Regions from separate parts of the Homo sapiens genome. Here regions 1 and 3 are each linked to region 2. Evidence: promoter capture Hi-C in human tissues and cell types (Jung and others, 2019). All regions are on one chromosome and are shown on one strand. Each heading gives the region's core, a stretch centred on a gene start or on the middle of the fragment in contact. The rest is flanking DNA. Distances are from core to core; before and after follow the strand shown. Region 1 holds the start of TNNT3 (troponin T3, fast skeletal type). Region 2 overlaps IFITM10 (interferon induced transmembrane protein 10). Region 3 holds the start of MRPL23 (mitochondrial ribosomal protein L23).

Region 1 (2,700 bases), core at 14-2,513, 180 kb before region 2:
ACTCTCCAAGTGGGGAAACTGAGGCACCTGGTTTTCTGCTGAGCGCCTGGAAGCAACACAAGGCTGTTCTGTTCCCCCCAGTATGGCCTGTGTCATTGCCTCTGTTGCGGGGAGGGGCTGGTGGCAGGGGTGTGCTGGGGGCAGGGGTGTGCTGGGGGCAGGGGATGGCATTTCAACAGCTGAGACGCAAAGCAGGTGTCCAGTTAGTGCCTGCCTTGGAGGGGCTGCGTGAAAATAACCTATGCGGTCAGTTTCTTCGGGCACGTATGCATCACCTTTCCCTCCTTGGGAGGTGACGGGGCCAGGGCAGGGTGGGGAGGCAAAAGCCGCTGCCCCTTGCTTGCTGTGGCCCTGACCATGCCCCCAGACCTGTTCTCCACCCAGCCAACCTTTGCTTTGCCCCATGTCCCTCCGTGGACTTCAGGAGGGGCAGCCAAGGCCTGATCAGACGGCACAAGTCAGGGGGACCGTGTCCAGGGCAGGGAGGGTGGGTGGGGGCTCTTACGAGCGCCAGCTTCTCCAGCCTCCAGCCAGGGGGACGCGATGAAGCCCAGCCCCTCACTCTTGCCCCGTCCTGCCCCAGTCCAGCCCCTGTCCACTTCTGTCCTGCACCTCCAGACGCTGGCCCCCAAGGCTGCGTGGGCTTTAGACGCCCCCACCCCAACACACTCGGGCTGGCCATACAGGAGCCCCTGCCCTCCTGTCCTCGTTTTCATCTCTACAAAATGGCGGTGTTGGAGGCCCAGGTGCGAGAGCTGCATGGCAAGGCCAGGACGGGCCTGGGCAAATGTCTGCATGGCGACCACAAGCTGGCAACCTAAGCCCTGGCAGCACCCCTGCACAGCCTCTTCCCTGCCGCTCACAGCCCGCACCTCTCTGCCTCCTGCCCTCAGGCCACTCCCTAGCACTGAGCTTCCCTGAGCCCCGACTTGCCCCCTCCTGGCCTCCCACACTCTGCCTTCTTCTGCATCCTCCCGGTGCTGAGACCATCACACCACCATGTCCGCATCCCAGACTCTCCGGACGCTGGAGCAGCCACCTGGGGGCTCCGAGCCATGATGCTTCGAGATGCTCGGCACCACACGGACCTGGGACCTCAGCGCCCCAGGACCCCAGAGTGTCCCTGGAACGAGGGGCTGTCCACCCGCACGCAGGAGGCCCCGTCGGCCCCAGTCCTGGGTGGCCGCTCCTGCCTATACCCACCTGCGGGTCGAGTGTGAGAAGGGCTGGAGCTCCCTGTGGACAGCACCGGCTGCAGGCACTGGCGCCCGGCTCACACCCTCGTGTTATAGTGACATTTGATCTTCCTAGGAGCCCATTGGCCAGTGACTGGGTGGCCGGGGTGTGTGCGGAGTCTTGCTGGGGGGGGCTATGCCCGTGCAGGCCCCTTACCAAGTATAGGAATGGCCAGAGGAGGAGGCTGAAGGAGGCCAGGATGCAGAGGACGTGCTTGGAGAAGGAGGCAAGGTCCTCCCTCCGCCTCCAGGAGGTGTCAGCTGCTATTTTTACTCCCAGCAGCGGGTACATTCTGGATGGGCTGAGGAGGGAGGAGGAAGGTGTTGGGTGGCCCCGGGGCACCAAGCCGAGGCTCTCTTTGGGCCAAACTAGTGTGGGGGTCCCCAGAGCCAGGCTGCCGGGTTTCCCACCCCCCCGCCCCTTCTCTCTGAGATGTTCTGTGGGAGTAAACATTTGTCCAGGAAAAGGGTCCGCACAGCCGGGGTCCCCTCCCGCCGCCCGGCCCAATGCCCCAGGCCCTTCGCTGTCTCCCCCGGGGAGGAAGCAGCCTGAGGCCTCGGAGACCCCCCATGGAACTGAGGCCAGGCCCCCACCCTATCTGAGACCCTCTTAGAGGCCAGCTCTGCTTTCCTGGCTAGACACCGTTGGGGCCTACACAATAAGCGGGCGAGGGACATGGCCAGGCTGGCTGCAGTCCGAGTCTGCCATACCTCCCCCCGGGGCTGCTGCCATTGCAGGGGGCTACACATGGAGTTTGCTGGGTAAGGGTCTGGGTCCTCCCTCTAGGCCCTTTCTAACCCTGGGGCCCCACCCTGGGCACTCGCAGTGGCCGTTACCATCTGTGCCAGCATCTCCCACAGGCTCATTGTGGCGTGTGGAGACTGGTTTTCTTTCCTCAGGACTCCAGGTGGCACCGTCCGACTAGCAGACATCCTTCCTGGCCTCTGATGGCCTGTATGCTGGCCAGTGAGGCCACCAGATTGGATAACCCTGCCTCTTGGATCAGGGAAACTGAGGCACCAGGTGGGGGAGAGCAGTCTGGCACCCTGACCCACCCCCTCACTCCCCTCAGACCCCACAGGCTGAGCGTGGGCGGTGGTGTCTGCGGAACTCTTCGGTTCAGGCACAGATTGGTTCCTTCTTGGCCAGCGCCCAGGACAGGGGTGAGTCCCGAGAGGCACAGATGAGGTCCCTGTCCTCCCCAGGCTTAGAGTCAGGGACAACAGGATAACCCGGCAGGGGCTCACAGTGCCCTGGGGCCGGGTCGGGGGCCTTCCGGAAGGCTGTGGTTGGCACCTCATTCCACCCCTCCATGGAAGAGCGAGGCCGCAGAGCCCAGGGACAGGCAAGGTGTGCCTGGGGTCACACGACAAGGCGGGCTGGCCCCAGGCTGCCATTTCAAAGGACAGGGCCGGTCCCCTGCCTGCCTCCCGCTGAGTGCCCGGCACTGGGAAGGCTCTTGGA
Region 2 (2,700 bases), core at 109-2,608:
AAATGTGTGTGCACAAGTGTGTGAGAGCATGTGTGTGTGGTGGTGAGTATTCCTGCGTGTGTGTGTGTGTGTAGAAGCAACAAAGGAAAAGGGCCCCTGGAATTGGAGGTCATGCTTCCGACCAGCTCCAGCTGTGGCTCCCCAGACCAATCCTGAGCAGAAAGCTCCAGTGTTGGGGGGCTGAAGCTGCAGCTGGTGGAGCTCTGCCTCCCCTCTCTCTGTGCCCTGCCAACAGCCTGCGGACATGGGTCTGGCTGCCTGGGCTCCCGTCCGGAAGCTGTCCCTCCTCCCGCTTGGCTCAGGCTGTGGCTGGCCGGCTGGCATGGGGCAGGCCCATCTGGCTCGGGTTGTAGGTAGGTCAGGGATTTCTGGATGGTGCCGGGTTTCTGCAGGGGTTGGGGGTGGTGTGAGGTTGACCCTTCTGAGGGTCAGGGACGGCTCATTACACCTCCTCCCAAGCCTGCTCCTCCTGTGTCCTTCCTGCGGTGGGCGGGGGCAGCCAGGGCAGAGAGGCTTTGGGGCATACCTGGGAGTGGGTGCAAGGTGACCTGTCTCCATCCTGGGCAGAAGGGAGGACGGAACTGGCTGGCTGTGGACCCCACGCCTGGGAATGCATCCATCTGGTCACCCAGCTGCAGGTCTCCTGACCTGCACCCTACACCAAGGACGCGGGGTGGCCCTAGGTTCAGAAGGTCTTGGCTAAAATCCGAGCTCTTGGGACAGACAAGCCATCTTGCCTCACTGAGCCCCTGTTCCCTCATCTGTTCACAAAACAAATAGAAACAAAACAACATTCAAGCCAGCACACGTGAGCAGGGCGGAGGCCCGCATGCAGTGGTATGAACTAGACAGTGTGTCCTTGCCTGCCCCCACGTGTCCATCCACCCGTCCAGCCATCCATCCACCCCCCCCACCCACATGGGCCAATTCGGCTCAACGCAGGCTGGATCTGCAGCGCAGAGATTGAAGCCTTATTTTGCACAGCCTGGTGTCCGGGGAAGGCAGAGATACAAAAAGTCAATTCTCCATTCATGCCGCCTCCACACACTGTCTCCTGATGACCACTGGCTCCCGCGGTCAGCTGGATGATGGCCAAACGTCTCATCTCAGCATCCAAGCTGCCTTTTTAACCCTTCTGGCCTCAGCGGTTCCCCGCCCCGGTCACTCGGCAAATGTGATGTGAGCGATGTGCACATCCTCGGCCTGGAGAGCTTTTGTGAGATCTGGGTCTCTCTTCTGCAAAGCCTCCAGAGACAGTCCTGCCCCAGCCACATCTGCTCACCCCAGCCAATCTGTGCCCAAGGCAGAGCTGGCCAACAGATGGGTCAGGACATGTGGGTCTAATGGGTGGGTGGACAGAGGACACATGGTGAGACGGAAGAAGCACCACAGTGTTTCAGAAAAGGAATACTTCATTCCCAGTTTGGGGTGAGGCTGGAAAACTTCTAGAAGGAGGCAGCAATTTCACTGGGCCTTGAAGCTTGGTGAGGGGAAAGGTGTTTCAGGCGGGGAAAATGGCATAAACTAAGACACGTAGGTGGGGCAGTCTAGGGGGTCGGCAAGGCCCCTGTCCTCAATGGGAGATGGAAGACATTCCTGGAAGAGTGCCTGAGGCAGTGCGGTGAACGGGTTTGAAAACCTCGTGAGGGGCTGGGCTCTCATCTGTAGGAGCCATGGAAAGAGAAGGATATGATCAGGGCCATGAAATCTGCAACCAGTGTAGGGGAAGGAGACAAGACAAGCCTCGAGGCAGAAGGTTCAAGTCCCAGTGTGGTGGTCCAGGTGGGAGAGCTTGCGAGCTGGGGATGGGGGTGGGAGAGGAGGAACAGGTGTGGCTAGGACACAGCAGCTGCTAGATGTGAGCCCAGGAGGCTGTGAGACCTTCCAGTGACAGGGCGGTCAGAAAGAACAGGTTAGGTGGGTGGGTTCTGCGTTGGGTTTTGGATGTACACACTCACCCACTCACTCCTTTCTGAATATCAGCATCACACATTTATCTTTCCCATCCTCCATCCATCTATCATTCATCCATCTTCCATCCATCCATTCTCCATCTGTCCATCCATCCATATGCATCCATCCATCCATCCTCCATTCAGCCATCCTCCATCTGTCCTTCATCTATCCATCCACCCTCCATCCATCCGTCTATCCATCTTCCATCCATTCATCCATCCATCCTCCATCTGTCCATCCTCCATCCATCCATCCATCCATCCATCTTCCGTTTGTCCATTCTTCATCTGTCCATCCATCCATCCTCCATCTGTCCATCCATCCATATCCATTCATCTATTCATCCTCCATCCATCCATCTTCCATTTGTCCATTCTTCATCTGTCCATCCATCCATCTTCCATTTGTCCATTCTTCATCTGTCCATCCATCCATCCTCCATCTGTCCATCCATCCATATCCATCCATCTATTCATCCTCCATCCATCTATCCATCCATCCTCCATCCATCCTCCATCCATCCATCCATCCGCCCTCCATCCATCCTTCATCCATCCATCCATCCACCCTCAATCCATCCATCCATTTATCTTTCATCCATCCATATGTCCATCCATCCATCCATCCTCCATCTGTCCATCCTCCATCCATCTATCCATCCATCCTCCATCCATCTATCCATCCTCCATCTGTCCATCCATCCATCCATCATCTGTTCATCCTCCCTCCGTCCATCCACCCAAA
Region 3 (2,700 bases), core at 159-2,658, 200 kb before region 2:
GCATGGGATTTCACAAGCACCTCCACGGTAACCTATCTCAAGTAGAACTCTGCACTAACTTCTTCCTCAAAACACAAAAACCTGGCTCACTGCCACCAGCCTGCCTCCCCACGGCCCCACGAGTGACTCACCCAGGATCCCACCCTCTCGGCACCCCCACCCCAGCTGCATCCAGTCCACAGCAAGTCCAGTCAGCGCTCCCTGCAAAGGCTCCCTGGCAACAGGAGTGTGTGCACTGCTGGGCGAGCGGGCCCCGCTGCCTCCAAGGCAACCACACCTGATCCGTTTCCAGGGGCCCACCACCCTTGGCCCTTCAGGAACACCCCACCCGGGTCCTCTGACCCTCACTTCCTCCTCATTCTCCAGGGACAGGCGAAGGGCCAGCGTGGAATTCACGTGAGGCTCAGGGCAGTGTTGGCCTCACTCAGACCTTTTCTTCCTTGGTGCTGGGTGTTCCCCAAGGTCAGGGCCACGCGCAGCACCGGTCCCAGGTGTCTGCTGAAGGAAGCCTCCTCCACTGGGGGTCCCACCTGCCACCCTCCCCTCTCTCCCCAGCTATGTGCAGGGGCCTCCAAAGCCACACCCTGGCCCCTTGACCGTCCCTCTCCAGAAACACTGATTACTGTTCTCCAAAACCCACCCGGGAGCCCACATCTACTGATTACGCCTGAGTCATTCGTTCACCAAGAAATATGCAGGGCTTCCTGCTTCAATTTGGGGAGGGCGAAGTGGTGCAGGACAGCGCCCCGATGGCCCCCTGGGAATCCAGAGAACATGCAGAGTGGGCGTGGGGGGTCTGGGCTGAGCAGAACCGGGCCTCCCGCCCTGCCTGCCCCAAAGCCCTGAGGGCTGCGGTCAGCTGCCCTTTCCCACTCAAACCCAATCTGGATTCCCAGCTCCTCTGCCTCAGGCCGCGCCCGCGCTGCGGTGGGGGCCGCCCGGGCCTCCCCGCCTGGACCCAACAGCCGACGTGGCCCCCGCCCCGTGACGATCAGAAACGTCTCCAAACAGCTCCCTCGGCCCTGGCTGCGGGACCAGCCCCGGGCCTGACCCCGGGCCACCCTCCCACTCCCCACGCGGGGGCACCGTGGCCTCCATGGGTTTGGCTCGGACCCTCTGTCCCCAGCCCGGCCACGCCCGCCCCCTGGGGTTGCCCTAAACCTGGCGGGGGGCTCCTCCGCCACCCGCCTCGCGTGTCTCAAGGCATGACAGGGGGTCCCGGAGAACCCTGCCTCGCCCGGGCCAGGAGGCGGCCCAGGGACGCCCACCCCGCTCCCCGGAGTCCGCGCGCCCTGTGGGGTCCGTCTGCTTGTGACACTAAGGGGCGCCCCGCGACGGGGGGGTGACGACCCCTACTCACACCACATTCCGCGCCATGGCGGCCACGCGCGCTTCCGGGGTCCGCGAGGCGGAAGGAGCAGCGCGCCCGCCCCGCACGGCCGCCGCCTGGCACAGCGCCCCCTCGCTTCCGGAGGCCGCGCCGCCCCCCCCGCACGCGCCAGCGCCCGTGCCGCGCGCCCGTGCCGTCCCCAGCCCTGCGCCCGCCCCGCCCCGCGCCGCCTTCTTCTCCCTCCCTGCCCCCCTCCTGTCCCGCACCCCACGTTCCTCCCCGCCCCGACCCCCACTCCCCGCGCCGCAGACTCCACAGGACGCGGGGCCGCAGCAGTCCCGCCCCGCACTCCCGGCCCCACAGCCTGAAGCCCGGGCCCGCGCCCCTGCTGCTCGCGCCCCGCCCACGCCCGCACCCCTCCCAGCCCCAGAGACCTCCCGCCGCCGTCGCACTCTTTCGGGCCTGTCTGCCCTGCCTCCCGGGACCCCGGCCTGCACGCCCCCCACACCCGTGCCCCTGCCCTTTGGCAGCTCCAGGCCACAGCCTGGCCCCGCACCGCTGCGCTTGCAGCTGCTGGGAGCTGGAAGTGGAGAACCGGGGCTGTAGTGCTGGGGAGGGCGGGTCCCCGGGCCTGGGGTCTGAAGCCCCTCTCTCCATCTGGCTGTTTTTACCCGGGAGCCCGGAACCCCAGGGCCCCTCACCTCGCCCTTCTGGCCAGCCCGGTTGGCAGCCCCCACGCTGGCCACACCAGCCACGCTGTCCATCCTCGGTGCTCCCACCACGCCTCCTCCAAGAGGGCCACTGGCCTCTTCAGGCCTTGCCGTTTGCTCACCCCCTCTCCACCCTTCTGGCCAGCCCCCTCCAGCCTCTGGCAAGGCCCTCTCTACAGGGACCCCCGTCCAAGGCCCAGTCCTCACTCCTTTCCTTGGGTAGTGCTGGCCAGGAGGGCTGCTGGGACCCTTCGGGAGTAGAGGGCAGCAGCCTCCCTCCCCTGTCCCCAGGCCTCTCCCTCCTCCCCTGGTTTCCTCTGCCTGGTGGCTGGATTCAGGCCACTTCTCCATCTATCTCTTTAACTGCCCGTGCCCCCCACCCCCAAGCCTGGCTTGTTCCCGCACCCAACAGCACCCTAAGTGTTCTTCAGAGCAAGAGGCAGGGGTGTCATGCTTCAGAGCAAGAAGCGGGGCCATGGGTCCTGGTTGTTGCTGGGGGCAGGGGGCCCAGGCCTGCAGGTGGGAACAGGGCTGCGGGAGGGCACTGGGGTTGATGGAAATTCAGGAGGAGGAGAGGGCACTGTGCCCCTCCGAGGGCCTGGGCCGGGTAGGGCTGGAGTTCCTCCTGATGGGTGGGTTTGAGTGGAAATGACTCCAGGG

The links. Contacts are between HindIII fragments. The study calls those that stand out against the background at their distance.
Region 1: a contact is called between the fragment with the promoter of TNNT3 here and a fragment that was not itself captured in region 2, in 4 of the 25 tissues and cell types used here (IMR-90 fibroblasts, dorsolateral prefrontal cortex, lymphoblastoid cells and 1 more).
Region 3: a contact is called between the fragment with the promoter of MRPL23 here and a fragment that was not itself captured in region 2, in 2 of the 25 tissues and cell types used here (lymphoblastoid cells and spleen).

What each region holds. Positions count from the first base shown.
Region 1 is chr11:1,918,266-1,920,965 of GRCh38, reverse strand. It overlaps TNNT3 (troponin T3, fast skeletal type), which reads right to left and starts at 1,263. Exons shown (of 16, transcript NM_006757.4): 1 at 1,204-1,263. The HindIII fragment of the contact is 33,765 bases long and covers 1-2,700 here.
Region 2 is chr11:1,742,852-1,745,551 of GRCh38, reverse strand. All of the region lies in intron 2 of IFITM10 (interferon induced transmembrane protein 10), which reads left to right. Among named protein-coding and RNA genes, the nearest start is that of IFITM10, 6.4 kb to the left of the region's middle. RefSeq lists an enhancer at 1,593-1,951. The HindIII fragment of the contact is 8,903 bases long and covers 1-2,700 here.
Region 3 is chr11:1,946,040-1,948,739 of GRCh38, reverse strand. MRPL23 (mitochondrial ribosomal protein L23) reads right to left here and starts at 1,408. Exons shown (of 5, transcript NM_021134.4): 1 at 1,361-1,408. The coding sequence starts at 1,377. The HindIII fragment of the contact is 45,453 bases long and covers 1-2,700 here.